Linked DNA regions of Homo sapiens: regions 1, 2, 4, 5, 6 and 7 are each linked to region 3. Evidence: promoter capture Hi-C in human tissues and cell types (Jung and others, 2019). All regions are on one chromosome and are shown on one strand. The core of a region is centred on a gene start or on the middle of the fragment in contact, and the rest is flanking DNA. Distances in the headings are between cores, read along the strand shown. Region 1 overlaps TLN2 (talin 2). Region 2 overlaps CA12 (carbonic anhydrase 12). Region 3 holds the start of TPM1 (tropomyosin 1). Region 4 overlaps TLN2 (talin 2). Region 5 overlaps LINC02568 (long intergenic non-protein coding RNA 2568). Region 6 overlaps TLN2 (talin 2). Region 7 overlaps TLN2 (talin 2).

What was found. Contacts are between HindIII fragments. The study calls those that stand out against the background at their distance.
Region 1: a contact is called between a fragment that was not itself captured here and the fragment with the promoter of TPM1 in region 3, in 1 of the 25 tissues and cell types used here (H1 embryonic stem cells).
Region 2: a contact is called between a fragment that was not itself captured here and the fragment with the promoter of TPM1 in region 3, in 1 of the 25 tissues and cell types used here (lymphoblastoid cells).
Region 4: a contact is called between a fragment that was not itself captured here and the fragment with the promoter of TPM1 in region 3, in 1 of the 25 tissues and cell types used here (lymphoblastoid cells).
Region 5: a contact is called between a fragment that was not itself captured here and the fragment with the promoter of TPM1 in region 3, in 1 of the 25 tissues and cell types used here (mesenchymal stem cells).
Region 6: a fragment that was not itself captured here is called in contact with the fragment with the promoter of TPM1 in region 3 in 1 of the 25 tissues and cell types used here (mesenchymal stem cells).
Region 7: a fragment that was not itself captured here is called in contact with the fragment with the promoter of TPM1 in region 3 in 3 of the 25 tissues and cell types used here (bladder, mesenchymal stem cells and thymus).

The regions. Positions count from the first base shown.
Region 1 is chr15:62,682,873-62,686,546 of GRCh38, reverse strand. All of the region lies in intron 11 of TLN2 (talin 2), which reads right to left. It overlaps LOC105370855 (a long non-coding RNA gene), which reads left to right. Exons shown (of 5, transcript XR_007064673.1): 2 at 2,443-2,565; 3 at 3,491-3,674. Among named protein-coding and RNA genes, the nearest start is that of MGC15885, 40 kb to the right of the region's middle. The HindIII fragment of the contact is 4,732 bases long and covers 1-3,674 here.
Region 2 is chr15:63,349,359-63,352,774 of GRCh38, reverse strand. The region is part of intron 2 of CA12 (carbonic anhydrase 12); the gene reads left to right. Among named protein-coding and RNA genes, the nearest start is that of CA12, 31 kb to the left of the region's middle. The HindIII fragment of the contact is 8,588 bases long and covers 1-3,416 here.
Region 3 is chr15:63,040,679-63,043,996 of GRCh38, reverse strand. TPM1 (tropomyosin 1) reads right to left here and starts at 1,250. Exons shown (of 10, transcript NM_001018005.2): 1 at 1,054-1,250. The coding sequence starts at 1,167. RefSeq lists enhancers at 1-478, 1,392-2,306. The HindIII fragment of the contact is 3,976 bases long and covers 188-3,318 here.
Region 4 is chr15:62,731,718-62,735,017 of GRCh38, reverse strand. The region is part of intron 28 of TLN2 (talin 2); the gene reads right to left. Among named protein-coding and RNA genes, the nearest start is that of MGC15885, 88 kb to the right of the region's middle. The HindIII fragment of the contact is 4,474 bases long and covers 1-3,300 here.
Region 5 is chr15:63,432,239-63,435,562 of GRCh38, reverse strand. It overlaps LINC02568 (long intergenic non-protein coding RNA 2568), which reads right to left. Exons shown (of 7, transcript NR_120375.1): 6 at 3,175-3,324. Among named protein-coding and RNA genes, the nearest start is that of LINC02568, 44 kb to the right of the region's middle. The HindIII fragment of the contact is 3,127 bases long and covers 1-3,010 here.
Region 6 is chr15:62,558,628-62,561,897 of GRCh38, reverse strand. The region is part of intron 1 of TLN2 (talin 2); the gene reads right to left. Among named protein-coding and RNA genes, the nearest start is that of MGC15885, 85 kb to the left of the region's middle. The HindIII fragment of the contact is 5,903 bases long and covers 1-3,270 here.
Region 7 is chr15:62,749,523-62,752,775 of GRCh38, reverse strand. It overlaps TLN2 (talin 2), which reads right to left. Exons shown (of 59, transcript NM_015059.3): 34 at 2,285-2,374; 35 at 349-471. Among named protein-coding and RNA genes, the nearest start is that of MIR190A, 73 kb to the left of the region's middle. The HindIII fragment of the contact is 6,490 bases long and covers 1-3,253 here.

The sequences.
Region 1 (3,674 bases), core at 531-3,030, 360 kb after region 3:
ACTGTCTTTCAAAACAGGTAGGGCTATAGGGAAACCAAGATTTTGAGGCTAGGTGAATAACTCATTAAACTAAAGGCATGGGAACTCAAACAAAGACATGAGAAGACTGGAAAGAGCCACAAAATCATGCCCCCTGTTCAGGAGAGCAGCTTGCTCCAAAAACAGACGATGCCAGAAAGATGGGATAGAACTGAAAAGACATCCAGAGAAAAACAAGCAAAGGTGAATTCCAGGTACTATCACTCCCAGTGGCCAACTCAGTGAGTAACAAACAAGGGTTAATCTGAGATTTAAAATTAACTTAACTAAAACTCTGTCAAAGTAGAATCTTCTCATTATGAGGAGACACAGCTTCCTGCCCTTTTTTTTAAATCTCTGAAATATATTTCTGTTTGGATTCTTTGTTTTGGAATTTTGTATATCTACTGATTCTTAAAACTTATTTTATAACTAGTTTTAATAATGTTTTAAGATATAGTAATGTCTATTAAAATAATGGAACCCTAGCTCACACTCATACCAAAACAAATTAAAGACAGAGACAGATTAATAATTTAGGAAGAACATCCAAGTGGATATTTTTGTGATCCTTGGGTGACAAATGATTTCCTAAGAAAAACACCAACATAAGAAGCCATAAAGGAAACGATTAATATGCTTAACTCAAAATATACATACTTTTGATAGACCAGGGGGAGGAGAGCAGAAGCTAAAGAAACCTCATAAAAAATGAAAAAGACTGGGCAATAAATATTTACAATGAATGTAATGGCAATAGACTTCATATACTGTCTATGTGATGTGTTCATAAATCAACAAAATAACTGCTGAAGAATATGAACAGAAAATGTTTTTAAAATAAATAAGCAAATAAGTTTTCACTTAAAATAGCTAAGGTTTCTTATTAAAATTAATACTCAGATTTGAGGAAGATGTGAAGCGGGTCACTAGTGATGAAAGCTTAAGATAGCAAAGCCTTCATGGGGGAAAATGTGTCACTATCTATCCAAACCCTTAAAAAGTCCTTACTTTTGACACAGCTAGCTTTGAGAAATTTAGTTTAAAAAAAAGTTATAAATGTGTGTAAAGATTATGCCACATGAAGCTCAACCACAGTACATCATAGTGAAAAGCTAGAAACCACCCAATTTTCAGACAACATTAGGCCCATTCAGGGTGGTATGGCTGTAGATGAAACAATCCAAGTTTTCAATAACACAGGACTTGATACATAAATTATGATATATCCAGATAACAGATTACCCTACATTATTAAAAATCATATTGTAGAAAAACAATTGGTTTTATGGAAGTAAATTATTCATAATATATTATTAAAAAACAGAATATAGGGCCTAATCTTAGAGGAAATAAAAATTTAAAAATAGGCCTATGTCCATTACATGAAAAAGGCACTGAACATCTCATGTGTTTTGTATTATTTTTTCATGCTTTTCCTTATTTCCAAAATTTCACTATTAAGTGTGTATTTTTAGGGCTGTCAGGAAAACCTTTTCAACTCATATTTGCTGAAACCTAGCAACAACACCTAAACTGCTATTCTCAGAGGCCTAGATATATACATTCACACAAAGTATCTATGCATTTGTGGATGTGTCTACACACACCCAACACAGGGTAATGGCACATAAAACAGAGCTGGAACATACTAGATACTTAATAAGCACCATCTGTTAATCTTCAGAGCATCTCCAAAACACTGGTATCATCATTTTTCACTTTGCAAGTGAAGAGACCAAAGCCAACAGTGGTGAGTGGTAAAGCCATAATTTGAACATAGATTTGAGTAGCTCAAAAATATCTCTGACTTCAAAAGCTGACTGTCTACTGCAGTTTACTGTCTTCTGGTGGAAGCAAAAAGAGAAAAGGCCAAATCCTACCCACCCCCAACCGCCCTCACCATGGGCATCTGGTAACCCTCAGATGGTGACAGTCACCGCACACCCCCAGCTTCCTCACGGAGGACACCATGGTATGAGGAATCTACCTGGGTGTCTGAGGAGGGGAATATTCCTCCCTGAACCTCAAGTCTTAAAAAACACTGACAAGCGTCAGATTTTTTTCAAAGAGAGGGCAGTTCCACAAGGGGTGAGATCAGTGCAGGGCAGACAATGTCAGTTAATCTACTTTGGCTTCAGGAGCCACACAGAGTTTTAGCTTGATAGGCTCTAGGCAGCTAATTTAGTCACACAGGGTTGGCACAATCCCAGCTTCTGGGACCCAGGAAGGGGACTGGAGATAAAATATGGTTTGCAGCTGCTTCCTTCATTCTTTCCCATCTGCACTGTTCCCCAGTGAGGGCTTCTGGGGTGCGGGAACACAGAATCGTGACGGATTGCCCTAATTCTTGTCAAGATCATTCCAGATTGGGAGAGGAAGCCACAGTGAACAAACAACTTACAGTGGACGCTCTATCAACAGGTCACAACTGAGGAAAAGGGGCTGAGGGAACTCAAAAAATACTGCAACTGGCAACAGAGACCACCATCAAGGGATAAAATTACTTCAGCACCTACACACAAAACGCAGAGCAGCTGGAGAAAGGTAAAGTAGCAAATGGCTGAGATCTGTGATCGTGATGCAAGGTCTTCCCCGGTGCAGAGACCTGCCTTAGAGCCTCAGTGACAGGGATGTGACGGGAGGGCCACAGGGTAATAAAGCTCCCTCTTTCCTTCCTATGCCTCAAGTCTCAGTACCCCCGAACCACTCCTTTCCGACCTTCAACTACACAGACCAGCTTCCTTTTATCTCCAGTAGACAAAGCAGGCTAAAGCAGGCACCAGTGAAGACCCATCTATCTCATATACCAACACACACAAAGAGCTGTAGCTGTGATTTTTGACGGCCATCTAGAAGCTTCTCTCTCAAGATGGTCCTGATTAGATTGTTTTTGTTTTGAAAATGTCTACAGCTTGTGTAACTCAGAGGCAGGAGAATGCAGGCATTCTACCAATGAGAGGCGGGAGAATGCAGGCATTCTACCAATGAGAGGCGGGAGAATGCAGGCATTCTACCAATGAGAGGCGGGAGAATGCAGGCATTCTACCAATGAGAGGCGGGAGAATGCAGGCATTCTACCAATGAGAGGCGGGAGAATGCAGGCATTCTACCAATGAGAGGCAGGATTCGCTAATAAACCCAAGCCCTCCTCTTTCAAACGTATTTCAGCTAAAACTACGGGTTCAGCCCTGGCAGCCAGCTGTGATCAAGACTGCTGTCTGCAGGCTCTTTTCACTGGTGTAGAGATTGCCTGATTCTGCATCACCTCTGCCTCACATCTGAGATCCAGAACTGGATGGAGGAATGCAACTGGACTGAGCTTCTGGCTCCTGGACCCTCACTTCAATATGGCCCAAGCCCAAAGGGTCCTCCCCATGATCCAGCTGAGCTCACTAGAGTTCTAGGTTGGCTTGGCCAAAGGGCTGGTTTGCATGTTTTACTCTGTCTTCAGTATATTTCTTTCTTTTAGGGGCATGGGAAAAAAAGGCTGCTCAAGAGCAAACCTGAAGACCCTGTTTATTAGCCATTTCTCTCCCTGCAAGTGACTGGCAATCCATTTTGACTGAACTTGGGATTCTGAGATGCTCCGAATGCCCTCTCTGGTGTTTTTACAGTTGAGGGGAGAAGAGGGTCTGTTCTCCAGGTAATCTAAC
Region 2 (3,416 bases), core at 467-2,966, 310 kb before region 3:
AGCTATCATTGTCCTGAAATTGTGCCTATTTGTTGAAAAAGGGCGTGTCATCATCTAGAATGTGTAAACTTTGCCACTACAGTGGTATCCTTTGGGGCAAGTTTTGATCTGACTGCGTGTTGGTAGCCGGCCCAAAGAGATGTACCCTGGAGCTTGGGCCCAGGCAGGTTCTCCAGGAAGCTGCCTGCAGTGAGCACTGACACAGACACAGGGGGGTCCACCTCAGAGTATGACCTCCAAGAAGTGTCATGGGGCAGAATTAATGTTGACTCTGGTGCCTGGATCCCCCCACTGTCTTCTCATGGCTACCTTTCATCAGTGAGCCCCTCTTTCTTCTGTCTCCAACCTTCCTTCTCTGGTCTCTTTTGCCGTCTGCATAGCAGTTTGCTCAAGCCTCTTCATAAAAAACAAAAACACAGGCTGGGTGCGGTGGCTCGCGCCTGTATTCCCAGCACTTTGGGAGGCCAAGGCAGGTGGATCGCTTTAGGTCAGGAGTCTGAGACCAGCCTGGCCAACATGGCGAAACCCCATGTCGACTAAAAATATAAAAAATTAGCTGGGCGTGGAGGCACGCACCTGTAATCCCAGCTACTTGGGAGGCTGAGGCAGAAGAATTGCTTGAACCTGGGAGGCGGAGGTTGCAGTGAGCTGAGATTGCACCACTGCACTCCAGCCTTGGTGACAGAGCAAGACTCAGTCTCAAAAACAAAAACAGAAACAAAAAACAAAATCTTTCACATTACCCTCACCTTACCATAACCACCACGCATACACCCTTCTCTCATCCCTTTATGGCTAAATTTCTGAAATGAGCTTAAAAAAACCCTCCACATCCATTCAAGGATGTGTTCAGACATAAGTAGGGATATGACATAAAGTTCTGGTCTTCCAAAGGTCTTTGAAACTCATATTCTGAGCTCTAGTCTGTAATAAGTTTCTGTACTAGTCTGGCTCTAACAGTCACAGGTGAGGCAGGCTAACAATCATCACTGCTTGCTAGTGTGCACAACCCGAGTAGGCTGGCCGAGAAGTTCAAGTCAGGGACTAGAAAGCACTGGGGTAGCTTTGGCAGGACCTGAGCTGGACTTTGAAGAGTGGACGAAATTTGGAAAGGTGCAGAGGAAAGAAGAGGGCATTTGAGCAGATTTTTTCATAACGGCATTTGTGAAGGTGGGTTGGCATAGCCTGTTCTTAGGCTCAGGGAGCTGGCTGAAGCATGGGGCAGGCTGGGGCGGGATGTGGGGGCCTTTGAAGACTTTGACAGGTTGGGGCACTTCAAGGCCATGAAAAACAGCTAGGCTGTGCTTTGTCTTGTTGGGGTGGGGCAGGGCATGCTAGGGAGAAAGGGAGTGTACGGATGGGTGGTGGGGTGGTGCCACCCAAGCCAGGCTATGACAAGATTGATCTGGTTACTGCAGGAGAGCCAGCCTGGCAGTGTAACAAGGAAGGCTGGGGCTGGTTGCCTGTGGGAAGCCTTTGCAGTGTGACATGGCGAGGGCCTAACCCATGGAAGCATGGGAGTCCATGACCCACTAAGGGCAAAGGATAGACCAAGCTGGCTCTGAGATGTTGAGCCTTGGAGGAGCGGGGCCCAGGTGTTCTCTGATGAGGCATTCCACCATCAAGCTGTAATCTAGGCCATAACACATCCTCTAATTGCAATATTGCAAAAAATATATGGACTGTATGTGAACCCTGAAATTTACAAACTGTTAAAAATTTATGACCTATTTGGAAAAATTTGAATTCTAATTGGATTCGGTAATCTTAAGGTATTAATTCTTAACTCTCTAGGTGTGGTCATGGTACTGTGGTTTTAAGAGCCCTTATGTTTTAGAGAAACATATGAAATATATACAGATGAAATATATCTGGATTTGTTTCCAGTTATCCAGGTAGATAAGGGGAGAATGGGCTTAGCATAGATGAGGCAGGACTGTTTCTGAATTGTAAACTGTCCAAGCTGGGTGACATGGGGTTCATTCCACTCCTCTCTCTACATTGTATACATTTGAAATTTTCTGTAAAAACATTCTGGTCCTTGGATAATGCAGGTCCTACACCCTGGGCCTCAAAATTCCCAATCAGAAATCACGAGAGGCATTTTGAGCTGTGCCATGTTAATCTCTTGTTACCTTTCGAAACAGGAATTCTGACCACTTCTGTTTTGCCTAGAGCAGGAAAAACACATAGACAGGAAAGAAATAATGCCTTGGCTTTATTTAGAAAAACAAACTGTGAAAGACACGTGATCCTCCTGTATCACGATCATGGGAGGAGTCCAACCAACTGGAGAGGCGAAGTCAAAACTCAGAAGAGCAAAGGCAAAGTTTTAGCTGGAAATAAATGCTTCTTTTAGGAGAGTCACTCCCAGTGGAGGATTTCTGGCAGTGGAGCACTTGGCATGAGTGTGAAAGCTGACACTGAGTTGGAAAATGGTAGCCCAGGGTGTAGCGGCCAGCATAAGGCCAGCACTGTGCAGTCACATGTCACAGCTCAGGGAACAGAAAGGCCTGCTGTTGTCACCTCTGATATTGGTTGTCCCGGTGCCCACCCTCATGGCACCTCTATCTCTCACATGCCACAAAGACAGGAGGCTGCTCTGACAGTGTCCCCAGCTATGCAAGGCGGGGACACCCACTAGCCATTACATGCTGGGGGAGGGCCCTATGAACTTCCTTGGCAGGCCGTCTCCCAGGCTACAGGGCAGAAATCAGATTTCTTTTTCAATTAGTGCCCCCAAACAGAAACCATTTGCACACAGGTAAGCTAGAAAGCTAGGAGGGTACATTTTGAACCTGAGCAAGTGATCTCATTTTTCCTCCTCTTTTTTGAGGAGAAGAAATACATGAGGGAATTAAGGTGGGTGCACGTTCCCTGGGAAAGGAACAAGCATGAAACAGGTGTTGAGAGTTCAGCTTAGTAAACATGTGAGGGCCCACTCTGTGCCAGGCACTGTGGGAAGTGCAGCGATGGATGAGCCGTGGTCCTTGTCTTCAAGGACAGCGTGGGGAAGCCAGGAAATTCCAGGTGCACAAAATCTCCTGGATAAATACTGAAGGACACATAAGTCCTGTGACCCAAGCAAAGTAACTGTTACTTAGCCAAAGTCAAACTTCCGGCAAATCTCTTAAATCTCTATTTTTCACCCATAAAATGGTGCAATTCTGCCTTGCTTACCCCGTAAGGTTATAGAGTTATAAGGATCAAAGCTACTACAATATAATAACAATGAGGAGGAGGAGGAGGAGGCGAAGACAAGGCTTTCTTGACCTTGCTGACCTACAGACCTGTGACTGGTGCCCAAGGACGAACTCCGCTGTGGATGGCAGCCAGGACCAGGGCAGGTTCCTGATGCAGATGGCTGTCTGATCCCAGCCAGTCCTGGAGCACCGGTGCCCTGTGCCCTCATTCCC
Region 3 (3,318 bases), core at 1-2,500:
AGGGGGGTGCAGCAGGCAGCGTGATCCCGAAGGGGAGGGGTGTGGGTGCACAGAACCAGAAGGACAGGGACAGCGGGAGAGACAGAGGGAAAGACAGGGAGGGAGAGAGAGAAAGAGAAAGAGTTAGCCATTCGTGCGCCACGCCGTGCCGCGCGCCCCGGGTACCTTGGCGGCGGCCTCTTCGGCGGCCAGGAGGCTGTCCTCCGCCTTGTGCAGCTCCTCCAGCACCCGGTCCCGCTCGTCCTCCGACACCCGCAGCAACTTCTCCTTGGCCGCGATGTCCTCCTCGAGCTGGGGGCAGCGGCGGGCGGGCGCGGGCGGCCGGCACGGACCGGGTGTTAGACACACACAACACACGGGCGTCGGGTTGGCTGGGGCCCCTCGGGCTCGGGGCGCCGCCGAGTTGGAGTGCAAAGGACCCGAGGTAACTTCCTCTTTACCCGAGCTGGAACCGCTCCGCGGCTCACCCCGCACACCCACCTGCCCTGGGACGAGACTCCTGCCGAGGTCTCAGCGGGCTCAAGTCCACTACTTGGGGACACAGAAGAACGCCACTGCTGGCCTGGCTTTCGGGCTGTAGCCTCCATTCCGCCCCATCTTTGTTCTTAGGTAACAACTCCAGGACTCCCTTCTCCTCCCCAAGTTTAAGGTTCCTTTCTCCCCAGTCAAAAGTCAACGAACTTCTAACACTTGAGTTACTCGACCCCCTTTCTCCATCCCTCGCCCTTCCTTCAAACGTCCCCAGGAACCGGGTGTCCTCCTCCCTCCCCCAAACTGATTCCCAGTCCTGAGAATAAAGCGCCTCTAGGACTTGATTTCGCGGGCCATGGGAACCAGAGAAGGGAAATAAGCGTCCTCAGACCAGACTAAGTTAGACTAAGCCTGGCTCTTGCGTTTCCCTTCCTTCTTTCCAGACGCGCGCCCTGGCCGCCCTGGGTGGTGGTGGGGGTAGGGTGGTGGCTCCCCGAGTCCTCGGGGTGGGGATCCAGCCGGGGGTGCCAGGCTCGAGTCCCGGCGCTCTGGGCGCGGGCGCAGGGCCGGGGAGGCGCAGACCTGCTTGCTCCTGTCTTCCGCCGCCTTCTTGTCGGCCTCCGCCTGCTCAGCTCGATCCAAGGCGTTCTCCTTGTCGAGCTTCAGCATCTGCATCTTCTTCTTGATGGCGTCCATGGTGGCGGCGGCGAGGGGCCCTGGGGCTGCAGCAGGAGCGGCGGGGCGAGCGCGCGGTCGGGCGGAGGAGCGGGAGTGCGAGCGCGGAGCCGCCTGCTTCTCCCAGATATGTACTTTCCCAAGGGGGCGACCGCATTCCTCAAGACAGCCAATACTTTTTTGGAAAAGCTTTTTTCTCCTGCCCCCCTTCCTCCTCTCCTCCCTCCGCCCCGTGCCCCCTCCCCGCTCCTCCCGCGGGGGCCGCTCGCCCATTCGCTGCCGGCCGCCGGCCTCCCAGTTGACGGTGGATATGACTATATATGGGGACCCGAGCCGCCGAGGCGGCGGCCGGAGAGGCCGCCCTGTTTCTAAACCTGCGCGCCAGGGAGAGGGCGTTGGGGCCGAGCCGGGGCCGAGGCGCAACCCTCCGCCCTCCGCGTGCCCTTCTCCCAGGGCCGGCACCCAGCCATTAGGGTCCCCAACCGAGCCCGCCCTGAGCTGCCGGAGGCCGGGAGAGCGCGGACCAGGTGGTGGATGCGCGTCGCCCCCCTGTGCCGTCCCCCGGCGCGCTTAGCCAAAGGCCCGGGGGCTTCCCAGCCGTGCTGCACCCCGCGTCAGGGTCAGTGCGCTCTCGGCACCCGCCAGCGCCTCCCCGGCAGCTCTCAGCCAGCCAGGTGTCATCCTGCGCGCTCACGCTCTGGAAACTCAACTGCAGCAGAGAAAGGGAGAACGTGGGAGAAAGCCTGGGGCGGCTCTTGAGACTTTCTCTGCGGGCGCGGGTCAGAGAGGCAGGGGGCGGCACAGCGACAGCACACGGAGTCTTGTTTTCTGCCTGCCCTTTCCCCCAGCGGAGGGACAGTCAAATACTTTAGGGACACAGGACTCAGTGGCGTACTTCTGTGCTTGCTGTGCAGTGCCTCCAAAAAGGTGTGCATGTGTGCGTGTGTGTGCGGGTGGCAGTCTAAGGGGAAAGAACATTGAGTTTAGACTCAGGCAATTTGGTCTGTGGTCTCTACTCTGCCACCAGCAACTGTGAGACCTTGTTTGCTGCCCGCGGCTTCCTCAACTTTAAATCCAGCGGGTAGATAATCCCCGAGGTCCCTCCAGATATAACTTGTTATCATTTTTCTTGCACTGATTTTAGGGAGTCGGCCTTCCATGTTAGATGCTTAGGTGCCAGGTTTCGGAAAACATGGGATCGGCGTTAACCTGGCTAAGTCATTGCATCCGCAGCCGCAACTCTGAGGAGGCTCTGCCGTGTGAGCTGTGCTTGGAAGGAGGAGGATTTCCCCCAACACTTCTTATTTTTAACTACTCCTCCCATCTCCCAAGGGGGAAAGGCTGCTTTTTTTCAGAGCTTCAGTGGGAGGGGAGGAGAGGGGGCTGCCCCCAAGCCCTGAGATCAGCTGAGGCAGGGTTGGTGAGGGTCTTGTTAATAGTCCCCACAGAATAATTCACAGTCTGTACTGCATGGTTACCAAATATTCCCCGGACGGTATCTGAGCAGATTAGGCAGGCCAAACAACTTGTAAGTCCTTCAGAGAATGATCAAATTCCTCTCCAAGATTTTATCGGGTTTCTTCCACTAACCTAACTGCCCAGGAGGGAAAAGATACACTGACCTAATGGTCAGAACATTAGATCTGACCATTAGCATAGGGGCTGCGTGGCACAGAAATTGACCAGAGCCCTTTAATCACGGTGTGTCAACCCAGCCACCGGAACAGTGACAAAGTTCCAGGCATGTGGACGATATCCAGATGCGTGGACTCCAGGGAGCTGACTCCCCAGGTTGGAGCTCAGCAGAGGAGGCAAGAATAGGGAGTTAGGAGTCAGTTCCAGGGATCCAGACCTGGCCTGGTCACTTCCTTGCAGTGTGACCTTAGCCATGTTACAATCTCTCTAAGCCTTTTTTCTCACTTATAAAAAGAGGCAACTGAACTAGAGAAACTCCTTGCGGGACCACATGTTACTGACTTTTCTTTTCTTACTGTGCCATATGTAGCCGAGGGACTCATTAAAGTTTCCTTAAATGAAATCATGCTACAAGCAATTTATTAAACACACGGTTGTTGAGTACCTGCTATATACTAGGCAGGTACTAGGCTCTGGAATCCAAAGAATGAGTAGCACAGGTCTATGTCCTCCAGGTGTTTGGCATGAGAAAGGTGT
Region 4 (3,300 bases), core at 334-2,833, 310 kb after region 3:
CAGTGTCTCTCTCGCACTGAACTTTTGAAATGACTGTTTTCTACAGGACTGAGCTGGAAGGTCTCTCGGCACCAGTGAGTGTAGTCTTTACCAGCCACTGCTTCAGCTGAGTCAGCACCTCCACAGCAGGTGGTCTTTTCCTCACTGAGGGTGAGGCTCTGAGATACAATAGAGTGTGAAAGGCCTCAGATCCATAAAACCAGATGGGTTTGCAGTGCTGCAGACTTGCTAATATGTAAATATTTAGTAAATCACACAGCTGGGATATAAAACTACGATCTAATCAAGGTAAATGACAAAGCTGCCAATCTATCATTTATCCCATGGCACTTCTGAGTACAGCTGGCAGAATAAAAGAATTTTAAACTAAGTGCTTTTTATGGCAGAGGAGAAGCCCAGAAGAGAAAGCACAAAGGTGAACAAAGCTAAGGTGAAGGAGAGAAACAATCTGAGGAGAATGGTCATTCCATTTTACGCTTAAGCTTTTGGCACAGGGTTGAAGGATGCTGTTGCTCAGAAAAGCGCCAGATGTAGTTAAGACCTCATCTGGCTCTGGCTCTGCTGCTGATTAGTTGTGTGGTCTAGACTGCTGCCTTTTCCCTCTGGGCCTCCCTTTCTCACGGGTTTTAGGAGAGGCTGAGTTCCTAGCTCTGACCATTGCAGATTCTAGGCTGTGATTTCTAGACCTCTCCTCTTGTCTTCCCATTTGTCATATGGACTCTTGAATCCACTTCTATTTGAGTCATATGTAAGTTTGGAGGAGTAAATCATTTATCATATGTAATTAGAAAAGACATGTTTATGCAAAACCCATTTAGTGAAAAACCTTTCATAGACTCATACAATTTAAAAAAACGCAGAAATCCGAAGAGCTAAATTCCAAGAACAACCTGGTCCATCCCATGTGTTTTCTGCTAAGGACTCACTGTGAAATCTCAAAGCACATCAAGGATCTTCTTGAGAGAGATGAGGTTTCTGGAAACAGGAAGCCCATACCATCAAAAGGACGAAAGAAGGCCACGAGAGGTCAGAAAGCCCAGTGAACACCCATGGCGGTGCATGGCTGAACGCACAGCAACATTCTCAATGGTCATCACTACAGGATCAGATCCCCAAGCAAACAACACCCACCGAATGGAACTGTTCCTGTAGTCAAAGTGTGCACCACAATACCAGAACCACCAGTGTGAAATACTAAAGCAGATTTCTGTTTCAATAACCACAGTCCTTTGAAAACACAGATTACTTTCACAGTATTCTTGCCATCTGGATCTTAAATGATACTTAGTAACAGAGTCTTATACAGGCATATCAAGTGATATCAAATATAGTAGCATTCTACATAATGGTTGCTATTCTTCACCAGAATTCATGTGGATTGTGTATCCAGACAGTATTGGGCCACATAGCAACCTCAGAAGACAAAGACCAGGTATGACACAAATCTTTTATCTGTTCCAAAGTATTTACAAAGGGTTATGTGTAATTGTAATCAGCTATACAGAAATATATTTTGAAGACTGCATTGGCCAAACAGAAACACACTTGCATTAGAATACAGCCCAGTGGCAGCTCACATGCAACTTCTGAAAACCCCACACACCTCAATTATGGACAAGGAAACTGAGACCCATGGAGAAGTTTTCCACACACGCTCTCTCTTTCCTTGCTTCCCATCCATTCTCCAACCTTCCTGAAACTGCCTTCAACAAGGAGAATAGTGATCTCCTTATTCCTAAAGCTAATGGATGCTTAAGTCTCCCATTTGACATGACTTTCTGGGCAGCAACTGTGTCTATGGCTCTAGAGACATCCCTCTCTCCTGGTTTCCCTGCCCTCTCCACAGCTCCATGTTCTTCTTTCTTTCAAAGATTTCCATTGCCAGTTTCCTCCCTAACCAGCCAGGTTCTTCAGGATTACAACTGATAAGCTGTCTCTCACTCTACCACTCCCTGTTGGCAAAATTATCTACTTCCAATCATTATCATTTTACCAATAATTTTCAAATCTGTATCATCCAGCCCAGCCTTCTCTACTGAGTTTCAGAGCCAAAGATTTAGCTGCCTAATGATGCTCTCACTGCATATTCTCCAAGCACTTCAAATGGAATATATCTAGTGCCGAACCCAGCATTCCTGAGCTTCACCTCCCCTGCTCCTACCAATGGTCCTGTGTTCCCACCAGTGATTCATACAACTCTTCACTCAGCTATAAGGCCAAACACTTGGAACCGTTCATGTTACCATCTCCACCAACTTCTAACCAGTCACCAAGAACGATTGGGTTTTTGCTTCTTCAATCGACCACTTCGTCTCCACTGTAGGACACTACCATCTCTTACCTGGATTAATGCAACAGCCTGCTTGCCTACCACTTTGTTTCCGTCCAATCCATTCTACACACAGGAGGAAGGGCGACCTATACAAAAAGCAATCTGAACTGTGTCCACAGATGAAAAACATGTTCACATATTCTTCAATTAAAGTATAACTCATTTATTTTAGCTTATGAGGCCCTTTAGGATCTGACCCTGGCCTAACTTTTCAGCGTTATCCTCTTATTTCTCACTTACTCTTTGCCTATTACTTTCACCATCTTCAGTTCCTTCCATCATCCTTCTCTCATCTTTAAGGCATCATACATGCAGTGCTCACTTATGCAACTGCCTTCCAGTGCCTGCCAAAATTAAATGGGGCTACTTCTAGGCTGTTTTTCAGACACCAACTAGACAGCATGTCTTCCTGGGTGTTATTGGTATGAGATGACGCAACATGTAAAGTAGTCTTTTCTCTACTAAATATGCATTTCATCATCTACACAACAGCTGGCAAGATTTCGGGAAAGTGTAGACATTTTTGAAATTTAAATCTCTCATATTACCCTATGATTTTCTAAGAATTTTATCATACCTTTCCTCCTCCTAGAATGCTAAAGGAGTCCTAAACAATCCACAAAGCCCTCGCTAAGTGTCAATTCTGCTCTGAAAATTTCCCCTACCTTCCCATTGGGATCAAATTTTGCATTCTTATTATTGCAGGTACTTTATATACTGTACTATAACTTTGTGTTCCTATTGTGCTCATTAAAATTTTTATTTTCAAAGTAATAAATGTATACAGTTTTTACAAATCAAAGAGGATTTTGCTTGTAGTGATGGCAGAATAACTTACTGAAAATCAGCCTTCCCACACAGAAACTCTGGAAAACATATATAAAACATTTATTTGAAGACACTGGAGAAATACCAAGGCACCAAGGTAAAGAGGGCCAAGATCTTGAAATGAAGGAGTGAGTCCAATG
Region 5 (3,324 bases), core at 198-2,697, 390 kb before region 3:
GACCAGAAAGCAGGGTCTGAGTGTAGAGTGTGACTGGGAGGGGGGACTGTTTTACATGGGGAAGGGGGGATCGGAGTAGGCCTCTCTGAGCAGGTGACATTTGAACAGAGGCCCCAAAGGAGTGAAGGAGCCAGGTGGGTACTGGAGAGAGAAACAGCGTTGGGCAGAAGGGTGTGAAATGAGTGAGGGGAGGGTGGTGGAAATGAGGACGGGGAGGTAGCCAGGGTCCAGACTGTAACTGCTTGAGGGGTTCTTCCTGCTCACTGCATAAACAAAGACCACAGCATTGTAGTAGAGAAAGAGTATGATAGACACAAGCCTGACCACGCCATGTGGGAGATGGAATCTGGACTCAAATCGTGTGAAGCTTCTAAGTTAGGGGTTTTTCAAAGGCAGTTTGGGGGAAGACCAGGTAATAGGTGCTTACTGCTGATTTGTTGGGGTGGAAATGAAATCAGTGGGGGTCAAAGCTGTCCTTTGAAAGGCTGAATCACTCCTGGGTGGGGCCACAGGAGTGGAGTTGGCAGTCCAGATGGAGCCATGGGTGTCAGACATGGATAAAGCCTGGAAAGATATCTGAAAAGGCCAATCTACAATAGTGGTGTTATTTGCAGGACTAATTGGGCAAGCTGCATATCTTATAACCTCCCGAATAATGGCTGACAATGTTTATATCCGCACCTTAGCGGGATTCAGGCTTCTCTCCTCCCCCAAGCCTGATGGCCTCCCATTAGCTTTACAAAAGCAGTTGAGTTTGGCACAAGGCCTATTATTTACACTGTAGCCTAAATGTCTTCCAAATTTAGCTCAGCCCAACAGTCCAGGAATAATTAAAGGAAAGGCAAGATTGGGGGAGGTTTAGCTTAGCTTACTGTTATAATTTTTCTCACTGATATAATTTTTGCAAAGGCGGTTTCCAGATGACCTGGGGCCTCATTGGTTGTGGTGAGGACTTTGGATTTTACATATGGTGATGGGCTATTGTTGGAGGGTTCGAAGTAGGACAGTGATATAATATGACATCCACAGGGAGGGAGTCATTGGGACTGCCAAGCTGAGAATGGACTGGAGGAGGCCAGACTGGATGCCTGGAGGTGCATCGGGAGGTTGCTGCAAACACCCAGGCCAGGGACGCCTGCGGTGTGCACTCAGTCACGTGTTCTCAACCAGACTGTAGGGAGTTTGTGTACTTCTAAGTGGAGGAATATGTATGTGGGTGTATGAGTGTGTGTGTTTATGTGCTTCTAAGTGGGGGTTGTGTGTGTGTGTGTGTGTGTGTGTGTGTGTGTGTGTGTGTGTGTGTATGTAAGACTATTTTCATGAACCTCTAACTAGGGTGAGTTTGGCTCTGTTGCCCAGGCCGGAGTGCAGTGGCAGGATCCTGGCTCGTTGTAACCTCCGCCCCGTCCCTGGGTTCAAGTGATTCTCATGCCTCAGCCTCCTGAGTAGCTGGGATTATAGGTGTGCATCACCACGCCTGGCTAATTTTTATATTTTTAGTAGAAACAGGGTTTTGCCATGTTGGCCAGGCTGGTCTTGAACTCCTGGCCTCAAGTGATTCGCTCGCCTGAGCTTCCCAAAGTGCTGGGATTACAGGCACGAGCCACTGCACCCGGCCTCTAACTAGGTTTTAGCACTCTTTTCAATGATAAATGTAGGCAACAAACTACAATAATATGAGCAGTGCCTGGGACTTTGTCACCACTAGAAATCACAGATGTTTTTATATCACATTACATCCAGTCCCTGCAGCTCTCTGGAAATATTGCTTATACTTATCACTACTTTGGAATTATAATAGTTATTAGACTTGCCACCAGATCTTTTTATTTAATGTGGTAATAACAAAGCACATACATTAATATCTCATAAATCTATTCTTTAAAATATTTTGGTAAATAGATGTTAATATGATTGGTTTCCTTTATAATTCTCTGTATGTTATTTTTTGCATTTAAAAATATTATTTTCATAAAGCGGTGGCAGGAGTTATGTGGACATAGTGTATGTGGCGAGAAAGGGTCAGGTTCTGGATGTGTTTTGCAGGTAAAGCTGGCAGGACTTGCAGATGGATTAAAAGTGTGGAGCAGGAGAGGAGGGGAGCGGAGTTAGGCCTCCTGGGTCTTTGGCCTGAGCAGGTGGATGCAAACCAATGGTGTCACAGAGAAGAGGCAGATGAGGGGAGGAGCAGGTTTCGGGGGCAGGAAATGGAAAGCTTCATTTTTGCATGTTGACTATTGTAAAATGAGGAATGATGATTGTGCTAGGAAGAAATCATGTTTATAAAGCTCCCGACACGTAGTAGAGCCCAGTGGTAGCTGTGATTGGTAACTTGCCCCAGATCAAGAAAGCGGCAGCAGTGAGATGGGAGCTGGGTCTCAAGAGCAGGGTCTAGTAGACAGTCGTATGTATGAATCTAGAATCCGGTCGTATATATGAATCACACTTGATTCACATATATCATGTGTGATATGATTGCAACTTAGCAAAGTGTGTATGTGTGTGAGCAAGGTCTGGAAAATGAATTAATGAAAATGAAAATAGTGGTGTTAGGTTGTTAGGAGGCTTCAGTCTACAGATGTTATTTAAAGCTTTAGGTCTAGATACAGTAAATATTAATGCACCCATTTTCTAGAATTGAGGCTCAGAACCACAAAACCCATTTGTTACCTATCATGGGCAGAGACAATTCCTTCAGCCTGGTCTTCTGCTACTAGTGTTCCCTCTTTGCTTCACCAGGCTGAAAATAACCTAGTGTGGTGGGCTAAGACCCTCCTATAAGGACGACTGCAAAGACGAATTATCCGGCAGAAGCCTCCCTGTGCTAAATCTGGCACCACAAAGAAGAAATACACAACGCTTCCTTCCATGTTGACAAGTGGAACAACTTTCTCCTAATTTGGATCCCTGTGTGCCTGCGGAGCCCATGGTCACTTCATATTCAATGCTGAAATTGAACTGCTCCAGCCACAGTACATTTCAGGCAGAGATTACTTTAGAAAGGTGGTAATTAGCTGCACAGCCAGAGATGTTCTCATATACGACTGCTCACATTGACACTAAACCTCAAACACTGTTTACCAGAAGCACAAGGGTGGTTAGTAATTTTCTCTCAGACACTAACGCCAGGAGCAGTCGTGACCAAAGTGACTGACTGGGCCTCGGTTTCCTTACCTGTGAACCAAACAGGTTCAATGAGGTGTAGTGAACATCCCAGAGGCTCTAAAGTCAGGTTTCAATTTTCTCTGAACTTGCTTGGTCTTGTGTGGGTGCCCTGCAATTCTGGGGAAGGTCCTCATCCAGGGAGGAGGGAGAGTTCCAGGT
Region 6 (3,270 bases), core at 507-3,006, 480 kb after region 3:
CGTGAGGAGAGCATGTTAAAATCTGAAGATGGGAAAAAAAGGAAAGAAAAAGTGGGGTAGGGAGCAGGATACTGCAAGAGGAAGCAGCAGGGAGAATTCCTCAGTGGCTCAACTGGCTGGGCCCAGGGAGTCGGAAAGGGAAGGAGGCCAGGGTGGGGTCTGAAGACCAAGGACAGCAGCAGGCGATCAGGCACAGTGGCAAGGGATGATACACCTTTTGCGGAAAAAAAAAGAGAGAGAGACAGACTTTCCTCAACTCCATAGAAAGCGCTTGGCTCATTAGTGCTTGGAAATGTTCGCAATTGTGACTGGAAGGTCAGGCTCCTGCACTAGCTTTCTGTTCAGTAATGCAAGAGAAGGGCGGAGAAGTTAGCCACAGGAGTCCCTAAAGGACTTCAGCATAAGGTAAACTCACCTGTAAAATGGCCCCAAGGCAGAGACCCTAAAGAAGGCATCTTAATTATTCCGCATAGGGCCCTCAGCTCCTCTCGCGAAGGCGTTAGCTGTTAAGGAGGGAGCTTGAGGAAATGAAGACACACCCGCTGAGGAGGGGCCTCGGCGGGGTGTGTTACATTCCTTTGAAAACAGGCCCTTTGCTATAATTTGTGTAATCAGACCAGAGATTGGACTGTAGAACCCTGCTTCCCATTTATTACAATATCACGCTTCTGCCCAGGAAACCCCACCCAAGCTTTTGTTTGGAATTCCTTTCCTTGATTAGGTGCAAGTCCTATTATTCCCGCCACTCAAAATAACACATGGGTCTAATGAAGTCGCAAGGCACAGCCCTGCCAGAAACCTGACTTTCCTGAATGGGGCTAGTTCTCTTTCTTCCGTCTTGTTTTGGAATAATGATTTCTTTTCCCTTTCCTTCTGTGTAGAGGAAGAATGGGAAGCAGCGACATTCTGTACAAATGGAAAGGCAAATCATTTTTTCCCTCTGGAAAGAGCCACGCAAGTGGGCACCACTCTTTAGGCTGTGTCTGCAGCACCCTCGTTGCCTCCTGGCTCCAGCTGCCTCGGTTGCAGTTCTGCACACTCGATGAGTGGAAAGGGGTGACACACTGTCCTCAAGTCTCATCACCTGCAGAGCTGCCCTCCTCTCTGACAGCCTTCATTATGCAATTCAGGCAGAGTCCACCCTGCAAAGAAGGGCTGAGGAGCAGGGCAGGGGCATCGTCCAGACAGGTGAAGACATACTTTAGAATGCCTGGTAATTCTTAACCAAAGACAGGAGGCACAGAAAAATTTCACATCAAAACATGGGGTATTGGCCAGGCATGATGGCTCACGCCTGTAATCCCAGCACTTTGGGAGGCCAGGCGCGCGGATCACTTGAGGTCAAGAGTTCGAGACCAGCCCGGCCAATATGATGAAACCCTGTCTCTACTAAAAATACAAAAATTAGCTGGGCATGGTGGCGGGTGCCTGTAATCCCAGCTAGGCGGGCCCACTTAGGTGGCTCCATCTACTTCTAGAGAACATGACTTCCATACCCCAAGACTCCACCCCAGCCTGGGTCATTGCCACTTGGGAGGCTGAGGCAGCAGAATCACTTGAACCCGGGAGGTGGAGGTTGCAGTGAGCCAAGATACCGCCACCGCACTCCAGCCTGGGTGGCAGAGCGTGACTCTGTCTCAAAAAAACAAACAAAAAAACACGGAGTATTAGAATTGGAAAATAGGATGAATCATTTTCTCTAGCAAATACTTAAATAATGTAAGAGATGTGTTTTGTGGTCTGCCCAGCCCAAAGGAGCTGCCTTTGGTCCCCAGGGACCTGCCCTACCTTCCCACTTTCCCGAAGCCATCTAGGCAGGGGTAGAGCCCTGACCCTATGGCAGTTAATCCATTTCCAGGCCAGGGATCTAATACTGGTGTGGTCTCGGTCAAATAGGCCAATTCTGGCCAGTGGAATTCTTCCTGGTAACTGAGCCATTCTATTTGGTGGAACTCTAGTTCAGTGGTTGGAAGATTACGAAGTCACAAAGATTAGGACAGCCACAGAAGGTTACTGGAAACTGGGAGGTAATAATGACCTTGCAAGTTCATCTGGATAATAAGATAAAGCACACCCCCCCACCAAAAGAGGGACCAGGTACGTGGGAGCCCAGGAGAGCACCTTCAGTGCCTCAGTCCCCAGTTCTGGTGATCCCCAAGGCCCTTTGTTTCCAAAAGCATACAGGAAACTTCCTTGTTTACCAAATTGGTATGAATGGGTTTCCATTGCCACCAAAGAGCCTTGCCTAAAATAAGCACTCAGTATATGTCAGGTGCTATGGCAACAGTGCTACCTCAGAGCTAGTGTGGAAGACCAAACCCTCTATTAGATAGTTGCAGAATAGGTGGCACGAGCACAAGAAAGTGCTAGTGATATAATGCACATGGTCTGGCTAAAGAATAAAGAGCACAGCTCACTCTGAGCCAAACAAAGCTGCTTAGAAGAGACAGTTCTCCAATTTGGCCATGAAGAGTAGGAAGGGTGTAGCTGAACATTGGGGACAACATTGATAATCCCACCATGAAACAAGGCTTCCTTACCACAATTCCTCTAGGCTCAGTCCACATCCGCTGGCCTCAGTTACTTAGATTGTAGCCCACGCAGAACTGGGAGAGGTTTTCTTGGCAAGCTCTCCCGCCTCAATTTTCGGTGATCCTAGTAAAATGCAGCAATCCCCAGAAGAGGCTATTTAGAGCTCTCTTAACAACTCGCCTGCACACTGAGAGTCAAGAGGGAAGTCAGGCTGCTGGAGGACTCCTCCCTCTGAATTTCTCCTCTCCTGCCTTCTCAGTGACATCACTAGCTGAAGGGAAAGTGGATGTTCATTCACAGGGGTTTGAAGAGAATCAGGAATGTGGGAGACCAGAATAGGCCACCCCAAAATATGAAGGATTATTGGGCTGAAGACAATTAAGAAGAAGCAAATGCAGGAAAGCTTCTCTGCTCTCCCTGTATCTGCCTAAAAGCAGGATATGTGTTTACAAAGAAGAAAGGTATCCTGCCCCCTCTTTTATCAGGGAGAACAAAGGTTAACCACCGCAGACAGCTTTAGATGCTTCTCACTTCTCTGCCTGGAGATGGTACCAGAGGGAACTACGTGAACAAACTTTGCTAACTAGCCGTTATCTGCAGTTACTTATCTTCCCCCAACCTGCTGCCCATAGAGGCTCAAAATCCTTTTCCTTAGTGTTGTCACTTCTCTAAAAACCTACTGTTCTTTGTTGAAGATGCTATATAAGCTAGAATTCAAAGCCACCTCTCTTTGAGAAC
Region 7 (3,253 bases), core at 414-2,913, 290 kb after region 3:
GCATTTCTAAAGCCTTAGCAAATTTAAATTATTTAGTGCTTATTTTTCTACCCCAAACAACTCATCTATAATAAAAACTTTTAAAAGGATTGAAAAGTTGGCCTCTGAACCTATATGCTGGGTCTGTACTGAGTCTTGCCATGCTCCCCAGCCTGGCCCATGGCTGCTCTGCTCCTCGGGGGTAACTGGCTCATGTTTTGTGTAAATGCCCCAGCCAGCACAGAAGCCACTGCCTTTCCCATGGTTTCTGTGGTGGTACTTGGAGAAAGAGGTGCAGCTGGAGTTCCCCCACACCTCCCACAGGGATCTGGCACAGGGCACATGGCTGCATCGGGACTAGCCCCTTACCTGGGCTGCAGCCTCTGTCAGCCCACAGAGAGCCTTGGATGCAATCCCCACACATTCCCCAAAGGCAGGGAGGTCTCCGGTCTTGGCATTCTGTGAAATCCCTGCCATCGATTCACCCAGAACCTGCAAAACAAACGGCCAGCAACATTCTCTATCCAGCATTGCCTCAAACCAAGGGGTAAAGGAGGCTACACTCCAACTTTAATATTCAAGGCAACTTAATTTGGAACATTTGACATTTTCTCCTTTATTTGGATTAAAAAGAGATGGAAGAAAATTACATCATTTCCATTCCACAAAGAGATAAGTACAATGAAAGTATAACCCCAAAGTTATCTGTATTCCAAGCAGTTAGAGTTAATATACACAGACAATATAGTAGAGTCTATAAAAGGCAACTCATGGGTGAATGGTCTAAACTGATAACTAGTTCCCAGAATATAAAAATCATATGCATCGAGCTGTAGGTGAGGTCATAATCAGAAAGCATGATACTCACCCTTCCAGATATCATTTGTCTAGTTACTGACAGTAAAATTTAAATAGAGATCTTTGTTAAGTATGTTTCCTAAATACTGTAAGAATTTTGCCTTATTTTGAAAATCACTGGTGTGGTGTATTCTTTCTTCAGAGATCTTTACAATCACAGCTGAAAGAGATTTTAGTGTTCAGAATCCAACCCAGAGTGGTCATGCATCCTGTACAAGGTCACAGTGAAGGTCACATGGGCAGGTACAGGGTGCCCAATGTAAATTTGGTGTTCCCTCATTATGCCCCAGGAGGGCTGGTCATATTTTCCTTGGCAACAATGATGGAACTGAAGGATGTTTTACCCTGTGGAGAGACTGTGGTATTGCCAGGTCTAGAACCCAAGGCAGAGACTATTTGTCAATAAGCCATCTTGGAAGGGAACAAATTCCCTAAAATTGCTTAGATATACAAAATAATCCAGTTTACATAAGGATTTGCAAAAAAGGAACCATTTCTTTGGATCTGAGTGTGTATGCATCTTTCCCTTAGACAATCCATAATTCCATAAAAGGTACTGGATGAGGAAATTCTAGTTTTAGCCCAAATCAAACAGAGTCCTTTTGACATTACCAGCACAGATGTTTCCCCGCTAGAATAAAAGTGACCATGTTTCAGCTACAAAGCCAGATTGCAACAGCTCGACATCCATTCTTCTCCCTTGCATTTGATTTTCACCTTCTGATTTGAAGGCATTCTCAAAAGACATTGGTATGATTACTACAGAGGAGTGTTTCTCAACAGTTTTTTTTTTTATTATTGTTCCACTAAGGAGCCTTTTATGTTTTTTTTCCTAATCAAATGCCAAAGAATAAGATTTTGTTGAGTAAGGTTAAGATAGGAGCAGGGTAACAAGCCATTATATTATCTTAATTTTTTTTCAACATCTCTCCAATGTCCTACCAAAACAAAACAAAACAAAACAATTTCACCCTCCTTGAGAATGCATGCCATGAATAGACTGCAAAAGAACACATAAGAGGATCCCACGTAAGTCAAGTTACTGAAGGACTTTCCAAATCAGTTCCGGTGTAGAAAATACACGATTTGACTTACAATAAGACCCATTTGTGAAAAAAGAGAGGAAATGGTTCTCAAAGTATGGTTCCTGGACCACAGGGGCAGGACCTGGGAGATAGTCAGAAATGTAGAATCTCAGCTTCCTCTCAGACCTACTGAAACAGAAACTTGGGGGTAGGCAATCTGTATTTAACAAGCCCTCCAGGTGATTCTGATGCACCGTCAAGTTTGAGAAGCTCCTGAGCAAAGGGCTCCACAAATAGGCTTCATGCTACATGTGGCTAGCCCTGCAGACCAGCCACAGGCAGATGCACAGAAGGCACGTCTAAACTTCTCCCCACATTGACAAGCAATGCTAACTTCTGACTTACGGCATAGGCAGTCTTACCTTGGAGTTTTCCATCACACTCTCAATGCAGTCAAAGTAAGAGAGGTCACTAACAGGTTCATTAGGATTGTCCAACATCCCCTTCACAGTCTACAGAAGAAGAACACAACATAAAAAGCAAGCAAATGTCATAGAGCAAAAGAAATTCAACATCAACTGCCAACTATCAACTCTCCCTCCATACACAAGTTTCTGGTCATGATCACTTTTACTCAGATGTTTGAGAATTTACATCATGGTATCATGACTTCAGATTTCCTGTTAGCAACACAATGCTCATTATAGGGGAGGGGGTCTCTGGTTAGCTTGGCCAGAGATGAGAATCTCTTGTTTTCAGTTTTGAAGGAGAAGAAACAAGGTAAACACAGAAGGATGGCATTTAAAACATATTAGAACATTAATACAAGGCAATACATGCGTGGTCAATTAGCACAACTTCTCAGCAGGATAATTCTAAGGAGTTTAAATTTCAAAAGGCCATTCATTTCTTCATGACCAGTAAGAACCCTCAGTTTTTCCAATTTTGGAACATTTTAATAGGAAGGCATGAAAGAAGGTAATTCCCCCAAACTGTCCATTGTGATGGTTCATTTGTTTTTAATTTAAACAGTATAGAAAACGTTTCTTGTTGTTTAGGTCCTCATCAAAGAAATACATGGGTATAGGGCCTGGCTCTGTGTCTCTAAGCCACCAAAAACCATGGCTAGCTCTGTCATGGCATTGTAATGAACTTGATCACCACTTGTAAGGGACTTTTCCTGGGGATGCAGCCATTTAACCTCCTCCCCAGAGAGTGAGAATGTACATTAGGACCCAGCAATCTTTGGGACACAGCCAACAAAAAGACAGTCATTTGAGTTACAAAGGCTGGTGGGGGGCTGGGAGAGAAGGAAGGGGAACTGCTGAGCTGTTAAAGATGGGAGGGAAAGAGGGCAGTGTAAGGAATGAGCTCATTTCATTCAAGAACCT